Linked DNA regions of Homo sapiens: all the other regions are linked to region 3. Evidence: promoter capture Hi-C in human tissues and cell types (Jung and others, 2019). All regions are on one chromosome and are shown on one strand. Each heading gives the region's core, a stretch centred on a gene start or on the middle of the fragment in contact. The rest is flanking DNA. Distances are from core to core; before and after follow the strand shown. Region 1 holds the start of VDAC1 (voltage dependent anion channel 1). Region 2 holds the start of C5orf15 (chromosome 5 open reading frame 15). Region 3 holds the start of AFF4 (ALF transcription elongation factor 4).

Region 1 (3,573 bases), core at 705-3,204, 1.0 Mb before region 3:
TTACACCAACACTCTGAAGCTGAGGCTCTTAGAGGCCAGCCTTCTTGCCTGGGTCACGCAGCCACTAAGTGAGTGGTTAATCTGAAACTAGCACCTAGGGGAGCTGGCGAAGGGGCCCAGGGTAGCAGAGGCCATGAAGAACTCTTTCCAAGTTGTTGTTTTTTTTTGTTTTTTTTTTTTGGGGGGGGGGGACAATGTCACTCTGTCAGTCAGGCTGGAGTACAGCGGCTCAATCTCAGCTGACTCCAGCCTCCTCCTTCCAAGTTCAAGCGATTCTCGTGCCTCAGCCTCCTGAGTAGCTGGGACTACAGGCGCGCGCCACCACGCCCGTCTAGTTTTTGTATTTTTAGTAGAGACAGGGTTTTGCCATGTTGCCCAGGCTGGTCTCGAAGTCCTGGCCTCAAGTGATCTGCCTGTCTCGGCCTCCCAAAGTACTAGGATTACAGGCTTGAGCCACTGCACCCGGCCCAGATTGGTTCTTTAAAGCGGAGTTGAGAGGTGGCGCTGGAGGGGAGGAAGCCCTTCGACATTTGCTCCCAGCCTCAAAACTGGGTTGCACCGGCATCTGTTCCTAGCCCTGTGGGGTTCCTGGAGCCCCGCCTTGTCCCGCCCGGCCTCCCTGAGTTCTTGTCCTCCCCCTGCCCACCAGTCTCAGTGTGCGGGGTGGGGACCACCAGGCTGGGAAGCCCAGAGTTCCCAGGCAACTCGTGCGCCTGGGAGGGTCATAGAATCCGTCCTACACTCCTCAGGATCTTGAAGGGGGCTCTTCCTTACATTCCCAGTCACCCCTCCCCCAGCCCCTACACAGGGCCTAGGTAACCTGTCTGCACCCCACTCCCACTCTGTATCAGCTGCCCTCTTCCTCAGCACCCTATCCCACTGGAGCACCTTTTCCAACTCCAGTCGCCACTTTTAATCTGCCGCCTTTTCCCAGCAGCCAGTCCTGATTGCCTCCTCCGTAGCCCCAGTTGCCCACTGCTTTAGATAGTGTCGCAGCTGGCTGTGAGGAGTGTCCTGATTCTGTAACCCGGCACCTCCTCCACAGGGCCCTAGACGCCTCAAGCCTTCCAGGACGTTTGTTGATCAAAGGCGAAGGATGTGTAGAATCTTCGTCCATCTACGAATTAATTCTCGAAACCTGCTTCGAGTGGGCCTCGCGCGTAACACAGGGGACACTCAGTGGTGAACGAGACCACTCGCTTAGGCCTAGCAGCGAGGTGACCGTTCACTCAACACACACTAACTGGGTCCCGCAGGACACGCCCCGGCTGGTCGCGGGGGTTACCCGGGGTGCCCTCAGTCGGCCGGCCGGCCATAACCGGCGTGATCTCCTCGCGCCGAGAGACCCAGCAGGGACCTCGCAAAACCCAATCCACGTTTTGTTTTATTTTGTCTTTTTGCCTCTCAAATGCATGGAAATTGGCTGCTAGTAGCTTTGCTACAGGAGAAAATCGCTAATCTGTAGTGCAAAATCGGCGCACAGGGGTTTTCTCTGAGATTGTCTAGACGCCGCGCGGGCGGGTCGGAGGCGCCAGACACATTGTATCCGGAGCGCGGAGCTCGGGAGCAACAGTCGCCGCCTCTACTCTGTATCTGCGCCGCCCCAGGCGCCCAGTGTCCGCGCTGGGCCTGGGACTGCCCTCGGGGGATGGGGCCCACGCGGGCTTTGATGGGGGGCCGGGGGCCACTTTGTCCACCCAGGCGAGGCTTGGGTCCAGCGCCGGCCACATCAACTCCCGGGGGATCTAGCAGCGCGGAGGCCAAGCAGGAGGCCCAGGAGCCCCGCGCGTCTTCCATTAGCGCAGGGACCTCCGGGCCACAGCTCAGAGAATCGGAAGGCCTCCTCCCCCTTCCCGAGCGCTGCCACTGGGGCCGAGGTTTCCAGCAAGAACCCGCGTGTCCCTGCGCACGCACACACGGTGCACACGTCAGTCCGGCGCCTCCCCGTGCCCCGACTCACGCAGGTCCTCCCGCGCGCCCGCAACACGCCCGCAGGCTCCTGTGTCTGCTGCCGGGGCAGCGGGGCCCGGAAGGGTAAGAACGCGGCTCGCTAGCGGGATGGGGACCCTGGCCCGGCCTGGACGCTGTCCCGGGCGGGGCCTGGGGGCGGAGCGCGCCGGGCCGGGCGCGCAGGAGGGGAGGCGGGTCCGCGCCGCCGCCGTCCGCGCCGCCCCGCCCTTGGCCCAGCCGCTCGCTCGGCTCCGCTCCCTGGCTCGGCTCCCTGCCTCCGCGTCGCAGCCCCCGCCGTAGCCGCCTCCGAGCCCGCCGCCACATCCTCTGAGGTAGGCGCAGCGGAAAAGGACCCCGGCTTCCTTGCGCCCTGGACGGCGGGGGCCAGGCCCCTGGGGAGCTGAGAGGGAGGCGCTGAGGGAGGAGCGGGCGAGGGGCCCCGGCAGCCCGGCCGCGGGGAGGGATCGCGAGCGGCCGGCGCGGGCCTGGCTGGTGAGCGGGCGGGCAGAGAAGGCCGCACAGGCGGGTGCCGAACAGGTCTGGGCTGGGGAGCGCGAGGCCGAGGGTCCAGAGACGCCTGCGGCTGGCGGCGAGAGGCGGCCCGGGCTTGCGGGCGGAAGTGCAAGGGCGGCCGCGTGGAGGCCCGGCGGGCCGCGCGTCTAGGTGACCTTCCCCGGCGGCGCCCTCTGGCCCTGGATCCCACCAGCGTGCATCCGGCGGGGACCCGTTCGCCGCCCACGCTCGCCGGACCAGGCCAGCGGGCGGGTGCCGGCCACGCTGCCGCCTCGGGGATGAGCTCACGTGACGACCGTGGCCCCGAGTCCCCAGGCCCACGCGCCCTGGCCGGCCCACGCCCGCAGAAGCTGGCGCCCGGCACCGCCCGCCTGTGCCAGAGCCTTCTAGAGCGGAACGCGCCGGCCGAGAGTCGACTTAGGCGGTAGAGGCCGGAGCTCGGGCCTGGGCTGAAGGTTTGGCCTCGGAAAAGGAGGCCCCACGGGGAAGGATGTGGCCTTCTTGGTCTTAGGAGTGATTACTGGTTCGGTCGTTCATTCATTCGCCAAATGCGGCGGTGCATTCTGGAAACTGTTTCGGAGCCTGACTTTGGATTAGAGGCCCGCAGTCTTAGTGGTTTGTACAAGGTCACACAGCTGGGAAGTCCCCATACCTTCGTTTTCTCATCTATAGGACGGGAGCAATTGTACCTCTCCTTCGATGAGTTTTGGGGAATAATAAAATGAATTAATTAGCATGAAACCTTTAGAACAGTGCCGGTGTGGAGAAGGGCTAAGTAGAAACCCTGACACCCTTGGGGCTTTTTGGGTGAATCCAGCCCATCCCCCGCAGACCATTTTGCTACACGTGGCGTTGTGGAAGGGGTTCAATAAATGTAGCTCCTGTTTTTAAACATTCTTTCACTATTATTGACAAGCATTTGTATACCAGGTATTGAGTAACTTTCAGCTTAATTTATGAAAAATCTTGTAAGTTTACAAATGGACATTGTCAAGCTGGAGCAGTAAGTTTGCATGTGGAGATCTTGAATGCAGGAGCAGACCCTGGTTTAGAGCCCGTTCCGCCCGGGGTCCCTGTCCCCTTGACTAGCCTCCCCTCTCCTGGGGAGAT
Region 2 (3,451 bases), core at 329-2,828, 1.0 Mb before region 3:
TGTTTATTATAGATTAACTTTAAAGTCAACAAGCAGAAACTAAGATTGAGAAGCTCATTTGTTGAACTGAGTGGTTTTACAGAAAACTTAAGTACCGCTCAGAGAAGGGAAGCTCCTGGGGGACTGGGAGGACTTTGCACCTTGGCTAAAGTGGAGAGTTTGCAATAAGGACACCATTCAGTCTAATACGGGCTTCTGGGGGATTTCGGGAAATGTGCAGATGAATGACTTCTTAGTTTTCTTAACACAGAGTTTGTGTGTTTCTGAGCTGTCACCAGGGTGAGATAAAAGCTTAGGGGAAACCAGATTCAGGAGTAGAACACAGGCCCTTTAGAGAGACAGCTCAGCTGTGTCTCTGGGGGATAACAGCAATCTTCGCAGGGAATCATAGAGACCAGAATGGTGAAGCTGTGGGCACAATAAATGTCTTGCTTAACGTCACATTGATTTTCCTGAAATTGATCAAATGGAACTTTTATGAATTGAAGCCTGTATCTGTTTATTAAGGAGACATTTACAGAACGTACACACAGAGCAAAGTATGGCGCCAGGGCCCTAGGTGAACTTCTTGGAAGTTTGTAAGTTTGCATTTTTATACACTGGGGATTTCAAGTAACAAAATTTAAAAAGAGAAGCTTATTTTAGGAAATCTGAAAGTTATTTTCAATGGCAGCCCCTCACCTCTACTTCCTAGCTACCTTCCTTTCTTTTCCTCCATAATTTTTTTTTTTTTTTTGAGACGGAGTCTGTGGCCCAGGCTAGAGTGCAGTGGCATCTCGGCTCCCTGCAGCCTCCACCTCCCGGGTTACAGCGATTCTCCTACCTCAGCCTCCCGAGTAGCTGCGATTACAGGCACGCGCCACCACGCCTGGCTAATTTTTGTATTTTTAGTAGAGTCGGGGTTTCTCCATGTTGGCCAGGCTGGTCTCCAACTCCGGACCTCAGGTGATCTGCCCTCCTCGGCCTCCCAAAGTGCTGGGAGCCACTGCACTAGGGCCGGTCCATAATATCTTTATCATCTTGTATAGTGTGTATTTTACACCATATTCGCCCTCACAAGAAAATAAACTGCCAAGGCGGGCGGGGGGGTGGGGGGTTCTTTTTGTTCACTGCTGTATCTTAAATAGGGAGAGGTGCTAAATCTTTGTTGAAAAAAAATAAATGACTGTCGGGAAAGATTTTTAAAAATTACTTATAATCCCATCACCGAAATAGGACTACTTAACATTTGTGTTTCTTTCGCCTTTGAGAGAGGAAGAGCAGTTACTTCGCTTTCGTGATCAGTCTGTTCTACAGCTGGATCTTCCTTTTTAAAATGGCTAAAAACGCTATTTTTGGCTGTATAGTACCCAATCATGCAGGCGGCAGGGAGGGGCTCGCTTTGGCCCTCTTCAGCACGTCACACCCTACCTTTAATCCGCAGCCAACTGTGTGGCGGTCCCCACTTTCGCCTAGCGGCAACTCCCTCCTCCCTGCAATCCTTCCTTCTTATTCCGGTTTCCAGAGCACGTCTCCAGGCTTCGACGTCACCACGCTGGGACGTATGTGCCGAGGGCCGCGGCGTCTGACCTCATGGCGTAGAGCCTAGCAACAGCGCAGGCTCCCAGCCGAGTCCGTTATGGCCGCTGCCGTCCCGAAGAGGATGAGGGGGCCAGCACAAGCGAAACTGCTGCCCGGGTCGGCCATCCAAGCCCTTGTGGGGTTGGCGCGGCCGCTGGTCTTGGCGCTCCTGCTTGTGTCCGCCGCTCTATCCAGTGGTAAAGGGGGGCGGCAGTGTGGGCTTAGGAAGGCTAGGAGGGCTCGGGCGCAGGGCAGGAGACAGGCCGGGCCAGGGAAAGGGCGCTTCCAAGTGTCAGGAGCAGACGGCGGTGTCTGGTTGGGTCAGGGTCTCCGCGGGCCTGAGGACGGAGGGTATGGTGTCTGAAGGGGTCCAAGGTGGTAGGGTCTCCAAGGGGCCTGAGAAGCGGGGTCCCTGAGAGATGCAGGAACCCAGGGAGCAGGCAGCAGGGTGTGTAGATGGGCGGGGAGGGAGGAGTGGTGTTAGCGCCTAGAGATCGTTGAAGAATGGGCTGCCGCAAGGAATGGCGGTGGTGGGGTCTCCAAAATTTCTTGGATCGGAAAGTTAGGAGACTCTGGAAGAGAGGGTGGCGACAGGGGCTGAGGAGGTGGCCGGGGCTGGGGGTGTGGTGTCTGGAAAGGGTCCTGAGTTTGGGGGACTCAGGAATCTTGCAGGACCAAGGAAAGGTGGGGGTTTTCCAGAATGGGAGAGGTCAGTGGTAAAGACCGAGGCGGGCAGGGGCAGTAATCCAGTGACTGGACTGAACCAATGGAATATTTCCGAGAGGGAAAGTGAAAGGGAAAGAGCTGTCTTAGGGTACTGGTGCATATTTGAAGACTGGGAGGTTCTGGTGTTTGATAAAGATTCAGAGTACTGGGGCGTTGGGCCCCTGAAGGCTTGGGAGGCAGAGAGGAGTTTGGAGACAAGGGAGATCATGATTCCTCTTCCCTGTGTTCCGAGTTAACCAGGATAACCCTGCCTCGTTTTAATGCATCTGTAGGATTTGATTGATAAAATATTTCATTTCTTGCAAATGTTGCATGGTGAAATCAAGAGATTGAAGGCTTTTATTGAGAAATTAGGAAATCTGTAAACCAGTGCCTGATACTTGGTGGGAAAAATCCACTATTAAGAACTTGTAAGGATTAAACGGTATTTTGTTTAGTAGTCCCATTTTTCTTTCAGGCCAAGACACAGTCCTGCGTTTCTCCCTAAATTTGAATTTTCAGCTGCAAAACAGTGTGACCTGGTATAGTGTTTTCTTTCTTGCCAGCAGGGCCTGTCCAGCCCTACATTCCTCTGCGACAGTACTGTGGGTACATACTTATGTTTCCTCAGCAACATTTCAGTGTTGCTAACTGGACGCCCTCCCAGAAGTCTTTGCAGTCCCTGAGGAAGGACTGCTGTCCATTTCCTAAGGCCCTTTTATCATTAGTGAAATGTAATGAGGATTTCCCTGGTTGATGCAGATATTCCCGTTCCTAAAGTACTTAAGTAGCTTAATTGTTTTGGCCATTTAATCATCTAAGAAAAATAAAACACAAACATTTATATTTCCTGCTGGAATGCTTAAGGGATATATATCTGGCAACTGTAGTTTCAGAAACAGCTTTTTTCCCCTAAGAGATGGTTGAAAATTGGGCAAGAAGTGAGGCAGAATGTGGACTGTTAAGTGTCCTTTAGTCTCTGCTTTTATTTGTTAGAGCCCTATAAATATTTTTCTAACTATACTGAGACATTTTAGAGAATCTTTATCTTTTAAATTAAGTCTTTACATACACCAGTTTAAAATGTCATAAATTCAGATTATTCTGTCCTGAAAAGAAGCTAAATGAAAACGAACATACATGTCTTTAATAGGCGAGCAGCTCCACTGCACTACAGTGTAGCTTG
Region 3 (3,681 bases), core at 905-3,404:
TATTCTTTTCTTTTGCCACTCTCCATCCCCTCAACCCTCCAACCTATACAGCCTTGTAAATCTTCTTAAGCAGAATTTGAAAGCAAGTAAATGAAATAGGCACAATTTCTGTGTAGGATAATTTGGTAATATCTATCAAAATTAAAAATCCTTTTGATCTAAAGATTCCAGGCTAAGGATTTATCATACAGGTATAATTTGCTCATTATATGGAGTTGTTTTTCGTTTTTAATTATTTTAACTTTTTTGAGACAGGGTCTTGCTCTGTCACTGAGACTGGAGTGCAGTGGTGCGATTAGGGCTCATTGCAGCCTTCATCTCCTGGGTACAAACGATTCTCCCACCTCAGCCTCTCTAGTAGTTAGGACCACAAGCCTGTGCCACCACAAACGGCTAATTTTTTATTTTTTGTAGAGATGGGGTCTCACTATGTTGCCCTGTCTTGTATGAGGTTATTCATTGCAGCTTAGCATGTAATAGTAATGGCTTGGCAACAAGCGGAATATCCACCTGTAGGGGATTGGTTAAATAAATTAGGATGTTTGCATAAGTGGAATATTATTCTGCCTCTAGGAAGAAAAAGGTAGTTCATTATATACTGATATGGCAGGATGTCCAAGACATTTTTTTCTTTTTTCTTTTTTTGAGACAGGGTCTCACTCTCATCCAGGCTGGATGGCAAGCTCCCGGCTCACTGCAGCACCGACCTCCTAGGCTCAAGTGATCCTCCCACCTCAGTCTCCAGAGTAGGTGGGACTATACGCATGCACCACCACGCCCGGCTAATTTTTGTATTTTTCATAGGGATGGGGTTTTGCCATGTTGCCGGGGTTGGTCTCAAACTCCTGGTCTCAAGCGATCAGCCCCCCTCGGCCTCCTAAAGTGTTGGGATCATAGGCCTGAGCCACTGTGCCCAGCCTATCCAAGATATTTGAAGTGAGAAAAAAAGGACTGAACAGCGTATATAGTGTGTTACCTTTTGTGTAAAAAGAAGTATCCCTATATTTTAATGTATTACTTACAAATATGTAGGGAAAGATACATTATTAAATGCTAAGTGATTGCCTTCCAGGACTGAAACAGCTAACAGACAGAGATGGGAGAATCAATTATTTTTTATTCTGTCATGTTTTGAGTTTTCTATTAAGACATTTCCTAATTTATATAGCTCTATAGAGAAAATGCATATAAAGAGTGAAGCTTAAAAGAAATAGTAGATGTTTAGAGGTGAAAGAAGTGTTCAGAATGATATGCTGAAGAAAAACATTAGTGGGCCGGGTGCGGTGGCTCACGCCTGTAATCCCAACACTTTGGGAGGCCCAGGCGGGTGGATTGGTTGAGGTCAGGAGTTCGAGACCAGCCTGGCCAACATGGTGAAACCGTGTCTCTATTAAAAATACAAAAATTAGCCGTAGGTGGTGGCTCCCCCCTTTAATCCCAGCTACTCCGGAGGCTGAGGTACTAGAATCGCTTGAACTCGGGAGGCGGAGGTTGCAGTGAGCCGAGATCCCGCCATTGTACTCCAGCCTGGGCGACAACAGCGAGATCTATCTCAATAAATAAATGAAAAGGAAAACATTAGTGGCAGAAGATGTTTAAATGACGAAGAAAGAGGGACGGTTTGGCTTCTTAGGGTAAGTTTACTGGAAATACCGAACAGCCTCCTGCGTCCTTTGCCTTTTTGCTGGACCTCTTGAGGACTCGAGGCTTCGACACCTGGAAGCAAGTCTAGGAAGCTCCGGGTTGGGCCGGATCCCCACCAGAGGCGAGGGGCGGAAGGCCTGGGTTTGTCACCTGAGCCCCAGAACCGGCATATCCGGTTCGGCCCGGCCCCGCCCTTCGGAACCTCACTAGCGGGCTACGCGCAGGAGGGCGTGAGCTCCCGGATGTGCAGGCCCTGTACTGCCGTGGCAGCCCTGCCGGACGCGGCCGCAGTGCCCAGAGGCTCAGGCCTATACCGCTCGGGCGGGTCCTTTGCCTGGCCCGGGTCATCAGACCCCACAGCCGGGAACGTCACCACCCCGGGCGTCGCCTCCCGGCCCAGCCGGCCCACAGACCCCCGCCCCCTACTCCCCCAGCGGGGAGGGGCGCAGAGGCATCACGTGACGCCCCGCACCCGCCCGGTCTTGGTCACATGGTGGCACGGCCGCTGCGTCAGTCACAGCCCTGGCTGCAGGAGTCCAGCTGCCGTCGCCGCCGCCAGCGGACGGGGCGGGGATCCTGGTGCCAGGTCTTCGTTAACCCGCCCCCGCCGCCTCAGTCAGCTGTCCCAGCCCGGGCCCGACCGTCATGGAGCGGTGCGGGGCCTACGCCTGTTCCGTGTGAGGCGCATCGCTGCCGCCGCCGCCGACGCCGCCTTCGTTTGTCGAGGCCTCCGGAACCCCCGCCGCCTCCCGGAGCCCCTCGCCCTTGGCAGCCTGTCACCGCCCCCTGGGCGGGCTCGAATGCGCGTCCGGTGAAGGTGCAGGCCCGGCGCCGCCACTGCCGCAGCCAGGAGATGGTTCGGGCCTAGCGGAGCCGGGACTGGAGGTAAGAAGGGCCGACAGACTGACCCAGGGCCGGGCCGGGCCGCGGGGGTTGTGGCCGGGGCCGGGTGGGGGTGGGGGCCCGCAAGTTCTGCGGGGAGCCTCGGGGAGACCCTCCGGGCTGGGGCTGCTCAATCAGGCGTCACCCCTCCTCTCATCTGCGCGTCCCACCCCACCACCTTCCCGCAAAGATAAGAAAATAAAAAAAGCTAACCCAATCCTAACAAAAATTCCCAGAAATCCATCCGTTTAGTGTTTCTCCTTTCCTCTTTCTTTCCTCAGACGTTCCATCGGCTGATTTGTTACTTTTTCATATCCTCCTCAATTTCAAATTATGTCTAATTAAAGAGAAAATAGGCCCAGATTCTGGCTAACATTACCCAGCTAGTTCTCGCTTTCCTTCTCGCGATCCTGCGCACCTCTCCCACACCCCCACCCCCGCAAAAAAAAAAAAAAAAGAAGGAAAAATTTCCGCCTTCGACTTGCGAAGGGGATTGACTAAAAATGGGAACGTGGGGGTATAATACTCGAATACCCTCCCCTACAACTTCTGAATCGGTCTGTTACCTAGTTATCCCAGTAGCTTGTGCGTGGATATTGATGTTTAGGCCTTTCCTCCAGCTGCCTGTGCTTGGGGTTAATCTCGTAATTGACGTCAGTGCTTTGTTCCTTCTACTTTGCTGTTCCTTCCACTCTTTGAGGATGGATCATGGAGTACAGGAGTTTTGGGAGTAACCTTATTGCCTTTTCGTTTACAAACAGTATTATTTTCAGGAAGTGGAAGTACGAATCTGAAATGTTTGTATATGGAGTTCAAGGCGAAGAGTTCGATTTAGGGTTCTCGTAGTTTTGTCAGTTGTAATTCAGAATTATGCGGTTTCTTCCCTGCTGGCCACATGGAAATTTTATACTAAGGCCAGTCACTTTTCCATTGACCAGTGTTTTTCTTGATGGAATCTAAGCTATAGGTGTCTGTGAATAGACTGTAAATGTAACATAAAATGTGTGCTGTTTTTCGGGCTCAGATATGAAAAGCGCAAAGCTTCGTTTCTGTATTGATTCTGCACTTCATAAAGTGCTTTTTAAAACTTAACTGGTCTTTAACTTATCAAAATTGAAATATTTATGAGAACTTTCTTAATTTGGGATTTGATAA

Evidence for each region. Contacts are between HindIII fragments. The study calls those that stand out against the background at their distance.
Region 1: a contact is called between the fragment with the promoter of VDAC1 here and the fragment with the promoter of AFF4 in region 3, in 1 of the 25 tissues and cell types used here (dorsolateral prefrontal cortex).
Region 2: a contact is called between the fragment with the promoter of C5orf15 here and the fragment with the promoter of AFF4 in region 3, in 1 of the 25 tissues and cell types used here (aorta).

The regions. Positions count from the first base shown.
Region 1 is chr5:134,003,356-134,006,928 of GRCh38, reverse strand. VDAC1 (voltage dependent anion channel 1) reads left to right here and starts at 1,954. Exons shown (of 9, transcript NM_003374.3): 1 at 1,954-2,034. RefSeq lists enhancers at 1,111-1,180, 1,221-1,280, 1,351-1,470, 3,121-3,170, 3,181-3,230 and silencers at 1,641-1,690, 1,731-1,790, 1,851-2,890. The HindIII fragment of the contact is 12,628 bases long and covers 1-3,573 here.
Region 2 is chr5:133,966,752-133,970,202 of GRCh38, reverse strand. C5orf15 (chromosome 5 open reading frame 15) reads left to right here and starts at 1,578. Exons shown (of 3, transcript NM_020199.3): 1 at 1,578-1,757. The coding sequence starts at 1,619. LOC105379183 (a long non-coding RNA gene) reads right to left here and starts at 1,514. Exons shown (of 2, transcript NR_134247.1): 1 at 1,411-1,514; 2 at 1-452. RefSeq lists enhancers at 1,435-1,654, 2,285-2,384. The HindIII fragment of the contact is 9,621 bases long and covers 464-3,451 here.
Region 3 is chr5:132,962,107-132,965,787 of GRCh38, reverse strand. It overlaps AFF4 (ALF transcription elongation factor 4), which reads left to right and starts at 2,154. Exons shown (of 21, transcript NM_014423.4): 1 at 2,154-2,529. AFF4-DT (AFF4 divergent transcript) reads right to left here and starts at 1,976. Exons shown (of 2, transcript NR_186175.1): 1 at 1,654-1,976; 2 at 1,098-1,547. RefSeq lists a silencer at 1,860-2,699. The HindIII fragment of the contact is 9,387 bases long and covers 1-3,681 here.